Linked DNA regions of Homo sapiens: region 1 is linked to region 2. Evidence: promoter capture Hi-C in human tissues and cell types (Jung and others, 2019). All regions are on one chromosome and are shown on one strand. Each heading gives the region's core, a stretch centred on a gene start or on the middle of the fragment in contact. The rest is flanking DNA. Distances are from core to core; before and after follow the strand shown.

Evidence for each region. Contacts are between HindIII fragments. The study calls those that stand out against the background at their distance.
Region 1: a contact is called between a fragment that was not itself captured here and the fragment with the promoter of TTPAL in region 2, in 2 of the 25 tissues and cell types used here (adrenal gland and bladder).

The regions. Positions count from the first base shown.
Region 1 is chr20:44,551,908-44,555,535 of GRCh38, reverse strand. It overlaps a transcript of PKIG not described here. Among named protein-coding and RNA genes, the nearest start is that of PKIG, 29 kb to the left of the region's middle. The HindIII fragment of the contact is 3,026 bases long and covers 339-3,364 here.
Region 2 is chr20:44,474,003-44,477,788 of GRCh38, reverse strand. TTPAL (alpha tocopherol transfer protein like) reads right to left here and starts at 1,915. Exons shown (of 5, transcript NM_001039199.3): 1 at 1,798-1,915. RefSeq lists a silencer at 1,810-1,939 and an enhancer at 2,030-2,119. The HindIII fragment of the contact is 17,873 bases long and covers 1-3,786 here.

The sequences.
Region 1 (3,628 bases), core at 602-3,101, 78 kb before region 2:
TATCTAAAGCCAACAGGATGGTATCTCTGAATTTAGACACAGAAAGATACATGGTAGTTTGGATATTTAGAAGGATTTAGTTTAAAGCCAATGTTTACAAGAATATTTATAAACTTACATAAAACCTATAGAATTTGGCAAGCTTTGGAGAGACAAACAAACAATTCTGGTCAGAAATGAACTTCCTGTAAATAGATGTCAGTGTTTTGACAGTACACTGTTAAGCACTATTCCTTATAGTTTTTGTAAAAGGAATAAAACAAAGGTAGAGAATACACACATCTCTCAATACATTTTCATGTTTGTTTACTTGTTTGTTTTCAATTGAAATTAAAACATTTCTTAATTTCTAATACTGACGATAATTCTATCGATAGTATCTTTTCTTTTTTCTTTAAGAATAACATCAACAAAAATAATAATGACAACATCAACAAAAATAGCACAGTAACATGTTAAATGATTTCTGGCAGTCTGTCAAAAATACAGATATTAAAACAGATATTAAAATAGGACACTTAAATGATATTAAGCTTCAACAAATCTGTAAAACCCAAAACCGTAACAATTTTTAATACCCTACTCTCAGAAAAGAAAAAATGTCACATTACTATAGAACAAAAGTAAATCAATAAGATGATTATTTTCCTGTATCTTATCGAGTTGGGGGAAATCCTGTCTCTGTAGGTGCCCCCACGCCCCCTGCCCTTTTCAGAAGACTTTCTTCAAACTGCAGGTAGCCTGGAAGTCTTCCCAGAAAATCTTTGAAAAAACACAGTCTGTTGTCTTCTGCATAGACACTTTGGATCTTACAAAGCACTTAGAGGTTTGTCCTCTGCTAAAAACAAGTTAGGAAAACCAAGAATCTGTTTTTTGCCCCCAAGCTGGAAGCTCCTGCCCACCAGCAAACTACTGCCTATTCCAGCTCTGTCCCCACTGGTACTTGCCACCCCCTCACCCCCTCACCCTTGTCCCAGTTCTTAGCTAGCAATTAGCATCAAGTCTGGACCCTGCTCAAAAACCCATCCTTCCCCTTGCTCTGACTACCAAGTTAAAAGTTCCTACTCAAAATGGGGTGTTGGTTACATAGGTATATGCATTTGTCATGAGCATTTCACTATATGTTAAATTTATCTGGATTAAAAAATTTTTTAGGCCTTGCACAGTGGCTCACACTTATAATCCTAGCACTTTGGGAGGCTGAGGTGGGTGAATCACTTGAGGCCGGAGTTCGAGACCAGCCTGACCAACATGGTGAAACCCTGTCTCTACTAAAAATACAAAAAAAAAATTAGCCAGGCATGGTGGTGTGTGCCTGTAATCCCAGGTACTGGGAAGGCTGAGGCACGAGAATTGCTTGAGCCTGCGAGGCAGAGGTTGCAGTGAACTGAGATTGAGATCATATCACAGCACTCCAGCCTGGGCGACAGAGCAAGATTCTGTCTCAAAAAAAAAAAAATTTTTTTTTAAATTAATAAACTGGTCTACAATGCTCTGCTGTCACTGTTAGCTTCTCTGAATTTATTTTGTGCCAAACTTCCCTCTCACTGTCCTTTGGTCACTTTTTTCAGCTTCTCCAAGGGCAAGCTCTTCTCTCGACCCCAAGACTCATAGCTCATTTCAGCATGTAATACTCTTCAGCCAACCCCACATTCCCCTAACTAACCCTTTTCTCCTAGTTAATGCCTACTCACCCCACCAGACTCAGCTTGGGTGCCTTTTCCTCCAAGGAGCCTTCCTTCCTCCCCTCACCCGTGTGCACAGGAACATGTTCACATATGCAGGCCAAGGCATCTCTCTGTTCCCTTAGCATTTACTATAAACGAGCATTAGAGTATAAGGTCCATGACAGCAGGCACTATGTTTTTATTAGTCACTGTCATAACCCTAGCACCAAGTATATCACAGATGATCAGTAAATGTTCATTTAATGAATGTTAAATGAAGGCACAAAGATATCAGTCATTCTGATCTATAAAGCTTCCTTCACCATTTTGCTGATCTAATGTGCTGTCTGGCCTCTCTGTTATCTGAAATCCATCTGTGAAGCTACCACAGCTCTGACTCTAATACTGCTTGGGTTTCCTATCTCAGAAGAGCAAACTTTCCAGGTTCAACTTAAGGCAACCATTTTCAAAGAGCAAAATGTGTTTACTCTTAACATGTACACTTCAGGCACTTGTCTAACCTCTCAGCCAACAGAAGTGGTTTGTCTAGACAAGGGTTTATGTGAGATATTCACTACATGGCGTTGGTCATACTGGCACTCCGAGGCAGCATAAACTTTAGCCTTTCCTGGGATGGAATTAATGACCTGATACCTTCAAGCTTTCAACTTTGGAAAATCACAAAAAAGTAAGTCAACTGATTCCCTAAAAATTCTCTCTCTTGCAAGGTTGTTATGAGGCGGTGGGAAGAAAAATGAGAAAGATGAGTCAGTGTGAGTCAGTGTTAAGAAAAAAGCTCTGCTTCTGGTAAACAGTTTGCTCTTTTACTGACAGGACTAGGATTACCCGACTCCCACTTCTAAAAATACACAAATAACAGGTGGTATACATTATATAAGTGGTTCCAAAACACAGACTCAGATCATTGACTCTAAAAAGGGAACAGTTAATCAGCAATGAGCCAGACCTTCCCCAGAGCCTGCTTCTCGGAGAAGCCCCCAGACTAAGTAAGCATTTCCCTAAAGACAATTAAGATCCTAAATGCTTCCACTGCCCACTCAAGTGACCTAAAGGAATGACTGAACCTCCCTTACAATAACAACTACTTCATGAGCACCTACTACGTGCCAATAACTCTGCTAGGCTTCATACAATTCATCTTTAAACTTTACAACAATCCTGTAAGATGGTTGTTATTATCCATGTTTTACAGATAAGGAACCTGGCGCACAGGGGTTGGGTTAGATTTATATACAGTTGCATAGTGGCAGCACCAGATTTGATTCAAAAGTGCCTGCTTGTCTCCTTTCATTCCAAACTGAATTCAGAAATATATATGAATTACCCTGAGCAAGGCAATGCATCAGGTACTGCAGGGGATACAAGCTAGAAAAGGCTACTCCAATTATCAAGAAAGCAAAATTGGAAGTAAATGAGACTATGTAGGAGAGCTTCATCTCTCTATTTCCAAGATCCCAAACAAGGCCCGCCACACATAAGTTGCCCAGGAAATTACTACTGAAACATATGTGGAAGAAAAGGGAAACACACAATCAAATGTAACACAGGCAGTCTGTGCTTAGTGTCACAAGACAGAATGTGCTGTGATGATTTAGATTGTATCCTGATGGATGGCTTTGAGAAATACGCGCAAACAACGTGGCATTTGAGATAAGTCTGACAAACAGACTGACAGACAACAGAGAAAAGTAAAGAGATCAATGGAATATGTCAGGGGTAGTAACAGTTGAGACAAACCCTTTGGTACCTCTAGCAGCACAGGGAGAAATAAAGCTAGAAGAAACAGATTCTACATTGTGTTGGCCCTGAGTCTGCTTCAAGTCCCTTTTTATATAGAAAAGTGTAGCAATTACGAATATTTCCTAGCCGATTCCAATACACGGGGAGACACTCTTAATGGTTAAATAAATAAAAATCTGCTGTATAACCTTTTGTGGAAC
Region 2 (3,786 bases), core at 666-3,165:
CAGCTACTTGGGAGGTTGAAGCAGGATAATCGCTTGAAACCAGGAAGCGGAGGTTGCAGTGAGCCGAGATCATGTCACTGCACTCCAGCTTGGGCGACAGGGCGAGACGCTATCTCAGATAAATAAATAAATAAATAAATAAATAGATAGATAGATAAATAAATAAAAATATATTTTAAAAGGACCAATCTGCTGTCTTGAGAATGGACTCTAAGGGAGTGAGGACTGAAGCAGACCATTTAGAGGCTATTGCAATAATCCAGCTGAGAGATGCTGGTGGCCTGGAGTAGGTAGCCTTCACTGACCCCCAGCCAGGTTAGGTGCCTCCCCCGCACTTCTCCCACCCTGTTGCAATTGTCTGTTGGCAATTTGTGAGCAACATCCAAGTTTGTCTTGTTCATCACCTGAAACCCAGCGCCTAACATGGTGTTAGACACATAATCTGCACTCCATAAATATTTGTTGAATGACTTTAGTCTGGTTGGCACAGGTATGCTAAGTGAGGAATGGAACAACTATGGCTTTGTTTCTATGGAAGTAACCAAGAGATGCCTGCAATCCCATCAAACATCAGTGTTCACAAGGTACAAGCCTCACCTCAAAGCCCCTCTCCAGCCTCATTTTCCATCGCACCCCACCTTGATGCACATTAAATGCCAGTCAAAACAAACTAATAACCCATCATCCTTGGAATAACTCGTGCACTTCTGATACACTCTGCCTGGAATTTCCTCTTCTAATTTGTTCCTAACTTGACAGCTCAGGCTCAGCTGCCATGTCACCACCTCAGTGAATCCTTCCCAAACTCCCTGAGGGTGATTCCCTCCAGTTTTCCACAGAACTGGGTTCCTATTTCTTTTTTAGAAATTACAGTCCAATGCTATGGGCATTTATCTAGAGTCAGTTTCACCACGCACTCATTTATCAAATAATTACCGATCACCTACCATATATGTCAGGCACTGTGCTCACAGGCACTGGGAACACAGACGCAAACAATACAATTCCTTGCCTAATAAAGCTTACATTATAGTGGAATGAAGAGAATGCATACTTGAGCATTTTACCATGTATCAAGCATTGCTAAGCCCTTTACCCATTTCCTCATTTAATCTTCACGTTATTTGGTGAGAGCGCTATTACTGTTGCCATTTTACAAAGGAGGACAAAAAGGACTGTCCCCTAGAATCTAAGTTCCACGAGGGCAGAGGGCTTGTCTGCCATGTCCACTGCCACCCCCAGTGCCGGGCACATGGCAGTGGTCTGTACACATCAGCGGAGGATATAGGTTAAGCGATTCGCCCAAGGGGGCACACCCGGTGAGGCAGAGCAAGGATGCGTCTAGCCCCACCCTGGGCTTCTAATCTGTACCCTCCACCTGGAGCTTCATGTTGACTCTCCAGGGACTCAGCAGTGCCGAGCGCTCAGCAGGACTCAGTCACAGGCTGGTGAATGAGCTGACAGGCGGACATATGAGTGAGATGCAGACACCATTGGTAACGGTGAAGCCAAAGATCTCCCCCACCTGGAGCCCATCCTTTCTGGAGCATCACTTTCCTTTCCACCCCTTCCTCTCAACAAGGAGAGGTCAGGAAGCCATCTCTCCTAGAGCCCCCGAGACCCCATATCCCGTGGACAACCTTCCGAGGCCCCCACTTCCGGCTGTCACCCCCTCCCCAGGTGTCCCCATTTCCTGGGGTCTCTCGCTCCTCTGGTCCCCACTTCCGGTTATCCTTCCCTCTCAGGGGTCCCTCTCCTCAGCTCCCAGGGCACACGGATGGGCTCGCGGGCACTCACCGGCCCGACTACGGGCGGAGCGCGGGTCAATCGGCGGCGGGAGCCTCGTCCGGCAGCGCACGCAGAACCGACCCGCACTCCCTGCCCGGCCTGCCCGGCCTCTCGCGCCGGAAGTGACGATCCAGGGCGTGGGAGGCGGGGCTCCGCCTAGGAGCGCGCATGTGCGACGCCTCCCCGCGGCGTTGGTGTTCAGTCCCCACCTGGCTGCCGGAGCTCCGAGCTGCGGACCTGGAGTGGCTGGGAGGAGCTGGGGCACCAGCCGCTTGTCAAACCCGGCTTATAGATGGGGAAACTGAGGCTCAGAGAAGGAAGGAAAGAAGCTGCCATTTTCCAAGAACATGCTAACATGTACCTGTTGTTTAACATCCATGATCTCATTAACTCCTCATATTTATGCAATTCCCCTATTTCAGGAAAGGGAAACTGGCAATCAAGGCAGTAAAGGGCTTCAAACCCGGACCTCAGGATTAGCATTCTAGACTTCCCCCCACTATGGCTGCTATCAGGACTAGCTGCTCCAAAAAGGGAGACTCCAAACCAGGGGACATCTGTCTGTCATTAACTGAGTGACCTGGAGCAAGTCCCCATTCCTTCTTGTGCTTCCGTTTCCTTACCTGAAACCTGATTCTTGCTCTGGAGCCTGATTCAATAATTACTTTTTTCCTGCTTTGGGGTTCATTACGTTCCCTCCAGACAAAGGCTTTACTAACTCCCACCCCAGTCCATTAAGATCCGCCCGCAAGTATTTTGTGCAACTGCAACTTTGAGGCAAATCTCCTAGGTCCCTCTGAGGCAGAACCTCTGGTGGTCCAGGAGAACTCTGAGCCTAAAGAAACGACCTTAAACAGTCTTTTCATTTTCCTACCCCAGGGGCAAGAGGAGTCCCAAGAAGATGGGAAGTGACCCATGAGGGCCACAAGAACGTGGCAGTTTCTGCCAGATTGAGGGGCAGGGGGCAGCAGTATGGAGGCGACCTGGGAATCATGAGTTTTGACTCCTGCTCTCAGTTTCATCACTTCTAAGATTGACAGACAAAATATATAACATTCACTACAGTTTGAATTTCAGATAAACATTTAAGCATGTTCCTTTCCAAACACACACACACATACACACAGATAAGTGTGTCCTATGCAACATTTGGGACACATTTATACTTTAAAAATTGTTGTTTATAGGAAATTCAAATATGACTACTGGGCATCCTGGATTTTGTTTTGTTTGCTAAATCTATGTATTATTTTCCTGTTACTGTTACAAGGAATTACTGCAAACTTCATGGATTGAAACAACACAGATATATTCTCTTGCAGTTCTCTAGGTCAAAAGTCTAAAATCAAGGTGTTGGCAAGGCTGCATTCTTTTGGGGATTTGGAGGAAGCATCAGTTCCTTTCCTTTTACAGTTTGTAGAGGCCACCTGCATTCCTTAGCTTATGGCCCCTTCTTCAAATCACCTCAACCTCTGGCTTCTGTTGTCACCTCTACTACTGACTGATCCTCCTGCTTCCCTCTTCTTATAAGGACTCTTGGGATTACATTGGGCTCAGCCAGATAATCCAGGATAATCTTACCATCTCAAGATCCTTACATTAATCACATCTGTGAGATCTTTTAAAACGTAAGGTAAGGCCGGGTGCAGTGGCTCACGCCTGGAATCCCAGCACTTTGGGAGGCTGAAGCAGGTGGATCACTTGAGATCAGGAGTATGATGAGACCACCCCAGCCAACATGGTGAAACCCTGTCTCTACTAAAAATACAAAAATTAGTTGGGCGTGGTGGCACACGCCTGTAATCCGAGGCCCCCACTTCCGGCTGTCACACCCAACTATGCGGGAGCCTGAGGCAGGAGAATCACTTGAACCCAGGAGGCAGAGGTTGCAGTGAGCCGAGATCATGCCACTGCCCTCCAGCCTGGGCGACAGAGCGAGACTCTGTCTCAAAAAGAAAACCCCCCAAAACAGCCGGATGTGGTGGCTCATGCCTATAA